Linked DNA regions of Homo sapiens: region 2 is linked to region 1. The links are contacts of gene promoters, found by promoter capture Hi-C in human tissues and cell types (Jung and others, 2019). All regions are on one chromosome and are shown on one strand. The core of a region is centred on a gene start or on the middle of the fragment in contact, and the rest is flanking DNA. Distances in the headings are between cores, read along the strand shown.

The links. Contacts are between HindIII fragments. The study calls those that stand out against the background at their distance.
Region 2: a fragment that was not itself captured here is called in contact with the fragment with the promoter of BMP6 in region 1 in 1 of the 25 tissues and cell types used here (thymus).

What each region holds. Positions count from the first base shown.
Region 1 is chr6:7,721,465-7,728,797 of GRCh38, forward strand. It overlaps BMP6 (bone morphogenetic protein 6), which reads left to right and starts at 4,635. Exons shown (of 7, transcript NM_001718.6): 1 at 4,635-6,155. The coding sequence starts at 5,492. RefSeq lists an enhancer at 1,811-1,870. The HindIII fragment of the contact is 10,073 bases long and covers 3,021-7,333 here.
Region 2 is chr6:8,235,508-8,242,840 of GRCh38, forward strand. LOC105374910 (a long non-coding RNA gene) reads left to right here. Exons shown (of 4, transcript XR_001743950.2): 3 at 3,424-3,509. Among named protein-coding and RNA genes, the nearest start is that of EEF1E1-BLOC1S5, 140 kb to the left of the region's middle. The HindIII fragment of the contact is 5,550 bases long and covers 1,218-6,767 here.

The DNA of each region.
Region 1 (7,333 bases), core at 3,385-5,884:
GCACAGGCCAGGGAGCCTCATGCACCCCAGTTAACTAAGTGTCCAATCATTTCTTGGAATAAAACTCTTCAGGGATAGTAAAACTAGTCATGGAAATGTGTTAAGCATTGTTTTGCTCAGAAAAAAAATTGAAGACTTAGTCTGCACATGTTAATTACTCAATGAAAATTTCACAAACGATTTAATCATCTGGATGTCTCGAAATATTCTGTTGCTTAATATTATGTAGACAGCCTAAATCCTAGGGTCATAGAGATCTGAGCTTGTGTGAAAAGCTTGAAACACGTACAAGTAACAGATTTGCTATTTGGGTTATGGTGTGGAAAAAAATCTCTGGAAACAGATTTATGTATTAGTTTTTCACTTTGCCACCAGATGTCCTTCATGAGTAGGAAAATATGATGACTTGAATGATATTTTGAAGTGTGAATGCCCAGCATTTTTGAGTAGACAGTGAAAGCGGAGTGTGACTGAATGTAAATGTTACCACAGACTTTTGGATGAGACAGGTCTTTTGAAGGCTGTCTTACAGGTGTAGCTTTCAGAAGCAATACTTATTTCACTTGCAAATTTTCATTTCTCATACTTTACAACCATTTATCTATTTTCTTTTCACTCAACTCTAAATCGATATTTTAAAAATTTGATCGAATTATTATACTTTGAAATTAACATTAAGAAGTACTCAGGTCCTTATGCTAATAGTAAAGATAAAAAGTTGGTCTTTGGAGTGGAACGTCTCAATAATTCAAGGAGGCTAGACCTCAGTCTTTTAAACATGACAGCTACACAGTTTACAAGATTTTTTTTTTTTTTTTTTGAGACAGGGTCTTGCTGTCACCCAGGCTGGAGTGCAGTGGTGTGATCTGGTGATCTGGGCTCACTGTAACCTCCACCTCCCTGGCTCAAGCGATCCTCCCACCTCAACCTCCTGAGGAGCTGGAACTACAGGCGTGCACCACCACACCCGGCTAATTTTTGTATTTTTTTTTTTTTTTTTTTTTTGTAGAAACAAGGTCTTACTAGGTTGCCCAGCCTGATCTCGAGCTCCTGGGCTCAAGTGATCTGCCTGCCTCAGCCTCTCAAAGTGTTGCTATTACATACCTGGCCAAGATATTTTTATTAAGTTAATTCTAAAAGCAGCAACTTACATCTTCAGGAAATGCAGTTGAAAGGGACCAATGTAAAATTTAATATAAAATCCAAGACTGAAGTTGCAGTTTATTGCTAATAAGGTAATATAGAATATGTGTTTAATATGTCAAATTAATAAACAGCATGTTTACAAAATAGAAGCTATTTGGTCAAGTGTGTTATAAATGTATAACAGAAACCCTCAGAATATATAAGGAACAAGGACAACTACAGGTTTAAAGGATTTGTTGCGTGAATTACATGGTGCCTTAATAAACACTTGGAGACAGAATTCCCGTCCTATTCCCACTATCACTGGAAGTATGGGATGAACCTGTGCTTTCTGGTGAGGGCTCCTCATTTCTTCATTAAGTGGGGCAGGGAGATGGGACAGGCAACGTATTGCCAGAAAACTGAAGGCCATCTGCATGAAATGTCAGCCAAGCAACCAGATGTTTGATTGGATTGGCTCCCACATCCGGCTTCTTGATCGAATTCCTCCTCTTTCCACCCAGATGTTTTAGAAACACAGAGAACTTCATGAAGCTTGTTCCGGGCCCGCAGAGGAAGGGGCGGTAATATTTTGGTGTCCTGCAGGGGGCGAAGTTACCTCTAATTTTATCAAGTCGGTTCATACATTCCAGCGGACTTCAAAGCCCAGATCTGCTCCTGTCCCTCCAACTCCACCCACCCCATGCCTCCTCCTCTTGAATCACATGTGGACGTTGTCTAGCTCCCTGTCCTGAGGCTTCCAGGGGAGCACTCGGGCTGTCTAATGGGGAAGGGTCCCAGAAGCAGGGAGTAGACAAGGTGGGGGTTAGGGGATTTTTATCCACCTAGAGGTCCAACTGGCTTGGAGAAAGAGTAGTCCCAATTTCAAGGTTATTAAAATCCTAGAACTGTATCTCTTCCTGTCCCCTTTGTCCCAATGGATACAAGGGCTTGCCTGCATGTGTCCCGCAAACATGATGTGCACATGTTGGGAGCCATAGTGGACAGAAGAGGAGCACATCCTCAGTTGGATGTCACTGTCCTTATGATCATTGTAATGTCTCACTGCACAGTTTTTTTAGGAGCTTCTTCTGGCTCTTAAGGGAGATGTGCGTTCTCATGTTCATCACCTGGAGGTACTCTCGACACCTCCTCATTCTAGCCCCATTCGACAGAAACTGAGAATCCATCTTGGTGGAGTGAGGAGCCTGCAACAGACCTGAATCAGAGTTGCTGCTCAGATGTTTAGTTGATAGTCACTTTAGACTCATGTCACATGAACCCATCTACTTCTTAGTGTCTAAGGAAAGGGAGAGATGGCGTGCGTGTGTGTGCATGTGTGTGTGTGTCTTCTGCACTAGGTCCACCCCATAGATGCATACACAAGTTGAGTATCCCTTATCCAAAGTGCTTGGGACCAGAAGTATTTCAAATTTCAGATTTTTAGATTTTGGAATATTTGCATATACATAATGAGATACCTTAGGGATGGGATCCAAGTCTAAACATGAAATTCATTTATGTTTCGTATATATCTCATATACATAGTCTGAAGGTAATTTAATACAATATTTCAAATGATTTTGTGGATGAAAATTTTGACTGTGTTTTGACCATGTCCCATCCTATGAGGTCAGGTGTGGAATTTTCCATCTGAGGCATCATGTCAGCTCTCAGAAATCTTTAGATTTTGGAGCATTTTGGATGTCAGATTTTTGGGTTAGGGATGCTCAACCTCTACAATAGGTGGGTCACCCCTCGATTTTGTGTTTTAAATGACATAGCCCCACCAAGGTGCCCTCATCCATGCTTGAAATGTTGAGTTTCCTGTGTCTTCCCCACTGCCCTCGTAGGTAGAAAGTCTTTTACTCTGCCTGCATCTCACCAGAAGTCTTATGAGGAAGGTGCAACTAGGTTTAAAAAAGGAGGCTCTTGGCAGGAAGCCTAGGTGTATTTGCTGGAATTTCAGATCTTCTGAGCAGAGCTCTTGGCTGCTGTGGGGCACTGCAGTGAATTTATGTCCCTAACATGTTCCCTACAGAAAAAAGAAGTGACAGGGCTCTTGAATTCTGAGGGTCCGGGCATCCCAGACAAAGTATCGTATTATCTTTTCGGATGGAAGAAATCCCTGTAGAGATGGTTAAAGACTGGCATTCACATAAGTTTTGTGCCCTGAAATTCATAGCTATCAGATATTTGTAGAAATAAAGACTCTTCTAAATGACCACTTGTGTCTGGGCCAAGGCAGAACTAGAAAGAAGGACTCAGTGGGTAGTTGGAGTCAGTGGTGGTCTCTATTTACCCATGAGAAATAGATTCTTGGAAATAGGATAGGAATGCTTATAAGATTTGGACCAACAGAAAGCCTATGATCTCATAAATTCATGAATCCCACAGTCTATAATCTATTTGACTTCACTCTCAAATGCCTAGGACCATTTGGACTAAGGCTGGCAAGTCAGAAAATTGCAGTTTTTATTTTCAACTCCACACAATTTTCACCAAGTAAAAAACCTTCATGTTTTACGTGAATTTGCTTCTACGATCCATAGATGACTGGATGTTCTCGGGCGGGGTAAAGGCAAATGAATTTGTGTCCTCATTGGCAAATGGTGTTGGTGGTGGTGTTATCTTGTCTAAAATCCACAGGAACCTGTGTTTCAGGACCCTGTCTATTGTCCTGACCATTCAGAATGCATGCCAAGCCCCTGCTCTTCCTGGAGTTATCTTTATCACCTCTCCTCAAGTTTTATCTTGCACCATATAAGTCACATTGTATTTCAATATTAAAATGCAACATTAATAGATAAGCTGGAGAATCAAGACATTTCCAAGAAGACAGGGGACGCCTTTTCTAATATATCGTCTGATTACACCCTCTTTCTTTTGGGTGCTAGCTTAAGAAGCCAAACCAAAGCACAAATGAACAGAGAAGTCAACACATCCGACCCCAAACCCTCAGGACGCTGGCTTGGGTTACATGTGGCCCTCTCTGTGGTCAGTTTGTGAGTAGCCTCCCCGGAGGGTGTGTCCCAACTTCCAGCAGCTGCCGTGGAAAGCCACGTGTCCGCTAAACGCCTACATTACATCAATAAGAGAAACTAAGGAAGGGATGGAAAAGCTATCATTTTTCTTTTCTTCCTCAGTTCTGGCAGTATAGTGATTTAATCGCTGTTATTATTTTTATTTAGTTAAAGCATCAACTTAGGCCTTTTAAATGATGGTAAAAGAGAAAGCTTCAGATCGGGGTATTGGTCAGATCATTCTTACTAGCGATGACCTCTTCGCCTTTGGCACCTCGCGGCTCTTCGCATGCCTCCAAGAATTCCCGGGTCTTGAAACCTACGCGCGGCGGAGGCGACGCCTCTCGGGAGAGGGAGGGTGAAAGAAGGGGCGGGGCTATTTAAATAGCCCGCGAGCTTCGCGTCCCCATTGGCTGCCAGCCTGTCGGTTACCGCGGGGCGGGGAGTCCCGGGGCTGGAGTGAGGTACCTGAGCCGGGCGCGCAGCAGAAAGCCCACGTTGGCCGCTGCGGGGAGCGCGGCGTGGAGAGGCGGGAGACCGAATTCCGGCGCCGCCGCCGCGGCCGCTGCTCGGTGCACTAGCCCCCTTCCTTCCCATCCTTTCTGCGAGCGGGTTTGCTGGGCAGCCGGGCGACCGCCGAACGGAAAGCAAGATCCTCGCCGCCTCCGCTTGAGGAGGCGTGCGGCGCGCGGAGATTTTGAGTGGGAGCGACGGTGCCCGAGAGCTCAGGGGCGCGGAGTTCGTGAGCGAGAAGGAAGTTAAACCTCGCGGAATAGACTGGCATTTCGGGACGCCTTGTCGCCGCAGCCTGGGCCCTGCAACGGGGTAAACTTCATGGTGGCCCTGCGATCTGGGGAGGGGCGTGCGCCACGGTGATGCCGGGCATCTCCCGCAGCTCGTGAGCGGCCCCGCTCCCCGCTGCCCCGGGTCCCACTCAGTCGCCAGGGAGAGCGCGGGGCAGCGCACGTGTGCGGCCAGCGAGGCCCAGAGTGACCGCGCCGCGACTCGCAGGAGCCAGGGCGCAGGCTGCAGTGCAGCCCGGACTCAGACGCACCTGGCCTGGACCGCGCGCCTCTAGAGACCTGCGCGAGGCTGTGAGGCTCCCCTTCCTCCCCTCCAAGCGGTTCTCCTGGTGATCGCCCCTTCGCCACCTCTCTAGCCTGGGCAACTGGGGGCGCCCCGGACGACCATGAGAGATAAGGACTGAGGGCCAGGAAGGGGAAGCGAGCCCGCCGAGAGGTGGCGGGGACTGCTCACGCCAAGGGCCACAGCGGCCGCGCTCCGGCCTCGCTCCGCCGCTCCACGCCTCGCGGGATCCGCGGGGGCAGCCCGGCCGGGCGGGGATGCCGGGGCTGGGGCGGAGGGCGCAGTGGCTGTGCTGGTGGTGGGGGCTGCTGTGCAGCTGCTGCGGGCCCCCGCCGCTGCGGCCGCCCTTGCCCGCTGCCGCGGCCGCCGCCGCCGGGGGGCAGCTGCTGGGGGACGGCGGGAGCCCCGGCCGCACGGAGCAGCCGCCGCCGTCGCCGCAGTCCTCCTCGGGCTTCCTGTACCGGCGGCTCAAGACGCAGGAGAAGCGGGAGATGCAGAAGGAGATCTTGTCGGTGCTGGGGCTCCCGCACCGGCCCCGGCCCCTGCACGGCCTCCAACAGCCGCAGCCCCCGGCGCTCCGGCAGCAGGAGGAGCAGCAGCAGCAGCAGCAGCTGCCTCGCGGAGAGCCCCCTCCCGGGCGACTGAAGTCCGCGCCCCTCTTCATGCTGGATCTGTACAACGCCCTGTCCGCCGACAACGACGAGGACGGGGCGTCGGAGGGGGAGAGGCAGCAGTCCTGGCCCCACGAAGCAGCCAGCTCGTCCCAGCGTCGGCAGCCGCCCCCGGGCGCCGCGCACCCGCTCAACCGCAAGAGCCTTCTGGCCCCCGGATCTGGCAGCGGCGGCGCGTCCCCACTGACCAGCGCGCAGGACAGCGCCTTCCTCAACGACGCGGACATGGTCATGAGCTTTGTGAACCTGGGTAAGGATTTGGGGTAACGTAATGACGAGAACATTTCCCCCTTTTCAGTGTCCCGGGCCCAGGGGATGGAGTGAGGGGGTGGAGGAGCTCCCGGCGCGCGGGTCCCGCCTGGTGCGCCAGAGAACGCGGGGACAGGCAGGCTGTGCTCCCGCCACCTGCGCGGCGGTGGGCGGCACATGCGCTCCCCCGCGCCGCGGGCAGGGCTGCGCGCCGAGGCCCCCAGAGGCGGCTGGCCGGCCGGGCCGCGGGGCTCCGGGAGCGCTGTCCCCAGCGGGCGTGTATTTGCGGACTCCCTGAGCACGTTCCGCGCTTTTTTTCACTTCTGCCCAGCTCTGGCCAGGTTAACTCAACTGCAGCAGGAGAGTCCAGCCCGAGTGTGGCCATCCTGGGAAGAGGGCTCTTCAGTACGATTTTCCCCTCTAAACTGCCGCCTTTTGCCCCCTAACTTGGAGTGCAGTTTTCCCACCGAGACTTTTAGGGAATCCGACAGCGGCTGGGAACTTTGAAAACTTGGCATGAGTATGTTTAGAGGTATCCACGGCACTAGGGGAGGTTGCAGAGGGAAGTCCCAAAAGGACCGCGGAAGGCGCTCGGATCCCGGCCGGGCGGGGCTCGCTTCTGTTTGGGGCGGGATGAAAGCTCAACTGGGGTAATCCATCCTGTGCCCCGGCTCACATGCCCTTGGCCATTGTCCCCAAAGGCTGAACCTTTGATCAATGCAGCCCAAGCTGCACGGGCAGAGAAAGGGTGCGGGGTAGGGGCCGGGGTTGGGCGCTGAGCTCCTCTGAACCGGTTGCCAGGCAACAGAATGGAAATTCACGGGCGGCTAAATGGAGCTCCGCCACAAATGTTCTGTGGCAAACCCGGACCCAGTCACATCGCCCTTTCTCCCCCCTCCCACCCCACTGAGTTTTCTCATCTGTAAATGAGAAGGGTGCAGAGAAGACTCTTTTCTTCGGAGTCAGTGCCTCCGGTTTGCACTGCTTTTCATTCATAAGCTGACTTAGTTTAGCGCAGACATAGGATGGAGGGACGCGCTGTCAGCGGACAGATCATGGGTGCACTGGCTACGCCCGGGATGGTTGCAGCTGCGCGGCGGGGTGGGGCTTCACGGGCCTCCTTCCCATGTGAGACGGTGGTTGTGCCCAGGCCCTGAAGTGGGTGAGCAGACACTCGCC
Region 2 (7,333 bases), core at 2,743-5,242, 510 kb after region 1:
TTGTCTTGTGCTCCAGTCTTCTGTGAGCACCTCCCATTGAACAAATCTAAGTGGAAGCCAAGAGGACAAGCATTCTGGAAACCACCATCCCTGAGGTACAGACAGAGCAGGGGGAATGTGGAGAATGGATCTAAGGACAAAGTCCAAGGAAGGGCAAACTCTAGCTGTCCTCCTCTGAAGGAACTTCTGGTTCTTTCTTGGCTGGAGCAGGGTAAGAAAGATTCTGGAGAAGTCAGGACCACTCCCCGGGGAGGAATGTGGGGAGATGCAACCTCGTGGAAGGCAGCAGAGATAGATAGAGAAGTAAAAGCTGTGTGGAGGCATAAGGACCCCTGTCAGAACGAAGATTCTTGGATTCTCCACCAAACCCTACACTTAACCCAAATTATTTTATTTATTATTATTGTTATTTGCTTTTTTTCCTCTTGCAACAGTGGTCAATGTCTGCCTTCTACACTCAGTGAAAATCAGTCTAATGGCGAACCCACACAGATATCAATGTATCTACATTGATTTGCCTTTCAAGAACTTGGGAGGCTGAGGCAGGAGAATTGCTTGAACCCGGGAGGTAGAGGTTGCAGTGAGCTGAGATCACGCCACTGCACTCCAGCCTGGGCGACAGAGTGAGACTCTGTCTCAAAAAATAAATAAATAAATAAATAAATAAATAAATAAATAAATAAATAAAAGAACTCAGAGAAGAAATGCTTAGCTCAAAGAAAAAAAATTGCAGGCATCGTGACATTTAAGGCAAACAGATTTCGGGCAGGAGATTCCCCCTGGGACCCTCAGTGGGCTCCTGCCTCTCTACTTTAAAGAGTTTTCTGTATAGAGACCTGGTTCATCGTAATTTTACTAGGACCATTGCAAGTTGAATACAATAACCTCAGCTCAAGACAGTCCTTTTCCAGGGCCAGCGTTTAAAAAAACTTTAAAAAAAAAAAGATCCAATCCATTGTGGGCCCATACTTTGATAAAATATAATATATTATAAAAATTACTGGAAGAGTTTCATAGAAAGAGACATACAATACATAGGATCTCTTTTTTTTTTGATTAGATTCAACAGGCATATAGTGACTCTATCCAATGGTGGTGAAAATTTCCAAATTCTTATTCTTGGTCAGGTGCGGTGGCTCAAGCCTGTAATCCCAGCACTTTGGGAGGCTGAGGCTGGTGGATCATTTGAGGTCATGAGGTCGAGACCAGCCTGGCCAACACAGTGAAACCCCCGTCTCTGATAAAAATACAAAAATTAGCTGGGTGTGGTGGCGCATGCCTGTAGTCCCAGCTACTCGGGTGGCTGAAGCAGAAGAACTGTTTGAACCCAGGAGGTGGAGGTTGAAGTGAGCCGAGATTGCACCCCTGTACTGCAACCTGGGCGACAGAGTGAGACTCTGTCTGAAAAAAAGAATAATAATAATAAAAAAATTAATTCTTACTCTTGACTTTGTGCTTGCCTCCTTGTAGACCAGCCAGCCAGTTTCTGGACAGGTTCCGGTCTACTGTCCACACAAGCCTAGAAACACCATCCAAGATGGTCCTTATGATTGCAGGAGGCCACTCTGAAGGAAACTCATGTTTCCCCTTCCTGCCCTCTGTGGCCTGTGAGTTTTGGAAGTCATGGCCAAGACTGAACAAAAAGCAGGATCTGTGAGTCAGCAAGGACCTGGTGCAGAACAGATCTGAGGAGGACGCTTAGCAATAGCTGAGAAGTATTTCACCCATTCTGCCTTTATATTTATTTATTTTTGAGATGGAGTTTTGTTCCTGTTGCCCAGGCTGGAGTGCCGTGGTGCAGTCTTGGCTCACTGCAACCTCTGCCTCCCAGGTTCAAGCGATTCTCCTGCCTCAGCCTCTGGAGTAGCTGGAATTACAGACATGCACCACCACACCTGGCTAATTTTTATATTTTTAGTAGAGACGGGGTTTCACCATGTTGGCCGAGCTGGTCTCGAACTCCTGCCCTCAGGTGATCCACCCGCCTCGGCCTCCCAAAGTACTGGGATTACAGGCATGAGCCACCATGCCCGGCCCAATTCTGCCTTTTAAAGCATCTCTGTGCTTCTCACTCAGTGGAACGGGGTCTACATCTTTTCCAACTGCCTCGTTTTGTGTTCTTTTGATGCTGACAACTTGGAAAAGGCAGCAGACATATCTAAAAATGACAGTTATCTTCAGGGAAAGGAAAATGGCAAATATTAGACAAAAAAAGTATGAAGTAAATTTTTCACCCTGAAGGGCCAAAGAAATCATTAGAGTTATCTGACAGCCACAGTCTCCAGGCACATGACTTGCCCCCTGGCTATCTCATTGCTATTTATATGAGCTGGGATGTCTATCTTGCGGCCAGGGCTCAAATCAGGTGGGAGCTATAGGAACTTAGATATGGCCCAGAGTGAAAGAAACCAGGAAACCGTTATATCTGGCTTTCTAAAGTCCAGATTTCAAATTATTCATCTGGAGTTTATAATTAGCTATCTTCTCCCAACACACACACAGACACACACACACACACTCACACACACTTTTTTATTCTCTCCCTCAAAACGTCACATTGAGCAAATTAAAACTTTCGGAGTTAATAATTATTTCTCTTCTCCAAGATACTGCTATTATTTACAGAGTGAGTGGGTATTGAAATAAGGTGAAATAAAAATTGCTGCTCTTTTTCTAGGACAAAAATAATCAAGTAGACCATGAATTGGGAAATTCGAAAGCCCTCTTACTAACTCTCACACTTTTTTAAATCTACCAAATTCTGTGTTTAAAAAGTTGCCATGATTGAAGTGTTATTAGAGTAATAATAATTGAAGTTAAATACATACCTACAGAATGTACTGTCAAATGCAATTACATAGTGGTGCCGTGTTCCTCTCCGGTTGAGGAATAGGTTCTTTCTCCTGCCCTTTATTAAAGTTTAAAGGGAGTGCTGACTTGGTGCTAGGAAAAGGGGTGGGGAATGAGCTTTCTTGCAGCTGACCTTCAGGAGCGGCTGTGTTGCCTGCAGCACTGCTCTTAAACATGCCAGAATGCAGTAATGTCTGAGAAGGAATGTTAAAACCAAACCAAAAAACCCAAACCAAAAAACCCTCATCTCCAAATCAGCCCCCAAATTCATCTCCCAAGATCTGTTTTTGACGTGTCTTGATCATCATTCTCCTGGCAGCTAAAATCCTAAGCCACATGTCAGTGCGTTCATCAAAAAGAGGCTTGACTGTATTTTCTTCATATTGTTTCAGTGATAGATTCTAATCACCAGAACTTAAAAACCTGTTCCCACAATCTTTTGACAAGTCAAAATTTCTCCATTTCAGCCTTTAGCATGATAAAAAAAAATCAGAAACCTCCGTATGTATTGAAATTCTCACTGCTGCCGAGTATCCGCCTTTTCTCTGAAGATCATGTCTTCTTTTTGACTAGGTTGAAGACCTGAAAACTGTGACCCCTGTTGCCTAGCAACTGAGAAGCTCAGCCTCAACTCCGGGTGGGGGAGATGATGGAGAAAGGTCAGTGAAAGAGGCGGGCCTGTCCTTATCAATATGCCACTGTGGCAGCGACTTTTATTTCTTTAGAGTAATATATCATAATAAGTTTTGTAGGTCTTTATACTGTGGTTCTCCCTTTTGAATAAAAGCATAACTAAGACTTGAGGGGATGTCTGATATAACAGAAAATGTAACCATAAAAAAAAAACCCAGAATAGAAATGATCTGACTGCTGAGTACCCTGCCGAGCTGCCTGAGGCAGTTACACATTTCCATTGAGTTATTTTATGATCAGGCCAGTATGTTATTGAAATATTATCTCTTTAGCCTTTCTCATTCTGATAAGAAATGACAGGCTCTCAGAACAGCAATACATACAGAGTACAAAATATGGAGCTGTGGACAAAATTCAGTCGGGGTGAAGAACATTGGCTTTGGAGAATTTCCATGAAAACCAATTATCCTTGGGTTGTATTTTCAAATAGGGCATGGTACACACTCTAATGTCCACTTTAATTGTGATGAGAATTTGCAGCCTCCGTCGATGATTACATTTAGCCCAATTACTGAACAACATTCAAGAAAGATTGCATTGTTTTTAGTAACCTCACTTAAGATGCAATTTCTTTAGCAAATAATGAAATGCTGTAATGTTTCAGAAGCACAGGTAAGAGTTGCAATCTGGATTTGAAGGGTCACTCAGGAAAAAAGGGGAAGGAGATGAAACAAAGAATGTAACATTTCAAGTTAAGTCTTCTGAAAGTGGTCTGATTTAGAACTATTTTGGAAACGACACGCAATATATACAGCTTTGTTAGCTTATTTATCAACATATCGCTGGAGGATCCTGATCTTATTATTGTCTACTCCTTGCTTCTTTATTGTTACTTAATATGTAAGCCATTTCACATAAATAAAATCGATATGTATATATTTATAGATACGTAAGGGAGACACATGGTGTCTCGGGCTGGGTGTCAGGAAACCTGCGATTTATTCTCCAATCTGCATGTGACTAGCTGTGTAACCTTTGGGCAAGCTACAACTTCTCAGGGTCTCAGCATTATCCCCTGTAGAATGAAGAACTTGAACTACATAATTTCCGCCATCGTTCCCTATGATTCTTTTCACTCCCTATCAGCTACATTTTTCCCTCGGTTCTTTCTTCTGTTGCCCAGATATAGATAATCACATTTCTTCTTATGCAAAGTTTGATATCCATGTGATTTTGTATAATCGCCACTTTGTGTGTCTTTGAGACTTTTTGACCTTCTGACAAGTGACTTGTAAGAGGATATAAATTTAGGTGTTCCCAATTATTAGCATTGTTTTCCGTTTTTATAAATTGACCTTCCACAAATCTGAAGTTAGCGTTTTCTTCTGTTCAGCCCAGTCTCCGTGAACTTACGGGATTCATGACTGTTTTGCTTTTCTCCTCCCTTCTTCTTCTTTTTTTTTTAGATAGCATTAATGTAGAAGCAGATGCTGTCTCTCTCTTCACAAATGCTGCACAGTGAATCATCGTAGCCTCTCTGTAAAACTTTAACTTAATGGAGTCCTGGCATTTCTGATGAGACGAGGAACTTAATTTCATAGAACAACCTATTGGACAAGCTGTTCTTGGACATTCCCGTCTCAACTAAATGTTAAAAGTATTAAAATTCACATTAGCACCAGAGGAAATTTTGCATGGGTAATCCTTTAATACAGTGTTTTATGGCTCTATTAGCTGCACAGCAGCTGGTGACATGATGAATTTAATCCATTAAAAAATTCACTAAGAGGTTTGAAAGTCAGCTTTTTAAAACATTATGTTGCTGCAAGGAAAGAGAACTTCTCCTCGGGGCCAGAAACAGGGTGGCTTCACACTGAGGCAGGTACAGGAAACACACCTGCACGCAAAACTTTCACATGCTTGGATGTTTGCACTTAGAGGAGAGCTAGAATGATAGGTGAGAATTCAGGACACAGGCTGAGAAGGGGCTGACACAGTGCAACAATTCTGACTCAATCTCCTACTTGTTTCTTGCTTTTAAGAGAAGGTTTAATATAGATATTAAATGATGGTGTTATTTTTGAACGTGCTAACATGTTTTCTTGTGCTGATGTATGTCTTCGTGTAAAATCAGAAATGCTTCAAGCCTTTAATTAGAGACCTAATTATTTATCTTGAGAGAATTTAAGTAAGAAAATGTTTTCCACCCTTGATATAAGTAAGCTTCTTTGCAAAGTTAACTGTGTGGAAAGGTTTTGGCCTGAGGAATTTGAGGTCTTACTTCAAAGAAATGCTGTAGATTTGAATGTCTATAGGGCATTGGAATGGATCCTGGGCACAGGATGTCTAAGTTGCACCTTGGATGGCTTAGTGAGTAAGGACCAGTCCAGGAATAGACTAATGGTTTTAACCAGTAGGCTTTGAATTCTTACACTGATCTTTCCAAATAAGACTGTCTCAAAAAAAAAAAAAATGTACCTTGTCCAGCCCTAACAGATTTTGCAAGCTGCTAGGTAGGATTATTGTTCTCAAAGTCATGAGTTTGGTAAAAGGAGAATTAGTTTGTAACGAATATGTATTTCTGAGCAGAGGCAGTAACAGGTCACCTTGGATCAAATTGCCCAACATCCACAAATGAGTTTGTCACTGTATTCAACCCTCATGAGTGAAAAAATAGGCAGCTTAACTTAGCAGTGGTTTTTACCTAAACAACTCATTTATGTAATTCCCATGTTCATGTGAAGTCACTTATGTTATATCCTCACTTAGCATAACTTGATGTAGAAGGGGAATTGCTATTTCTTGTGGTGCAGCTATTATGGATCGTAAGAGCAGAAATGAAATCCACTTCATCTGCCTCGCAGGAGATCTGTAATGGTCCCGAAAGTGTAAATAAACCACCAGGTTGAAAATGGAAACAGCCATTGTATTCTTGAGTATTAAAAATTGGTTTATTTTTCTTCCAACATGAGAGGCTTCATTTTTCTAGAATTGCTACCTGGCTATGAAAGGTCCTTCCCTCTGTCCCATGGAAGGGGACATGAACATTCTAAAATTATTTTCCATAATCTCCCCCACCAAAAATGCTACCAATAGTTTGCCTTTTAATGGAAAATTTGATGTATTAGAAAACAGTTGAACTTGAGAGCTAAGAGCTGTTAGCTTGAGTGAAATCTGGTTTGATAATATCTCACCCTGTGTTTGAGGCTGATTGATCTAGATGCACCTCCTTGCCCCCTGTGCTTTTACAAAGACCCCTTTCATGGGTGTGCAGTAATGTGTTTCTTTTTCCAATCTACATGGTTCCTTGTGACTGAGCCTGTTGTAAGAAGGGTTATGCAGTCTGAGTGCCCGACTAATGATACTGCCTTCTGTAAAAAAAAAAAAAAAAAGAAAAAAAGAAACACAAACTCCATAACAATGATTTCCTTATTGAAAAAAAATGCATAACCAAAATCCAGTCAATAGTGTCATCATAACCGTACACGCCATTTCCATATACACAGTATTTTCTTAAGCAAGAAGGATTGTGGTTGACATTTTCGATTTTATAGTAAAGCATCAGACAAATGTAAAATAATGACATCTTTTTGACAAGCGTAGGTATTTTGATAGCATTTAGTACGGTACTTCCATTCCCAAAGAATCTGTAAATGAGAGCAATTTGTGTTTCTCCATGGTTTGATTGATTCCAGTGATTCTTGAATTGCCACTACAGGATAGTACAGGGTGGGCCATGCTGGGTTACTTGAGGCGTAATTAGCTAATCCTAGCATCCAAGAAAAACCCCTTAGCCACTTCAACTTCTTCTCTGCTTTCTCCTCCTCGCAGTGCAGTGCTGGGGAATGTT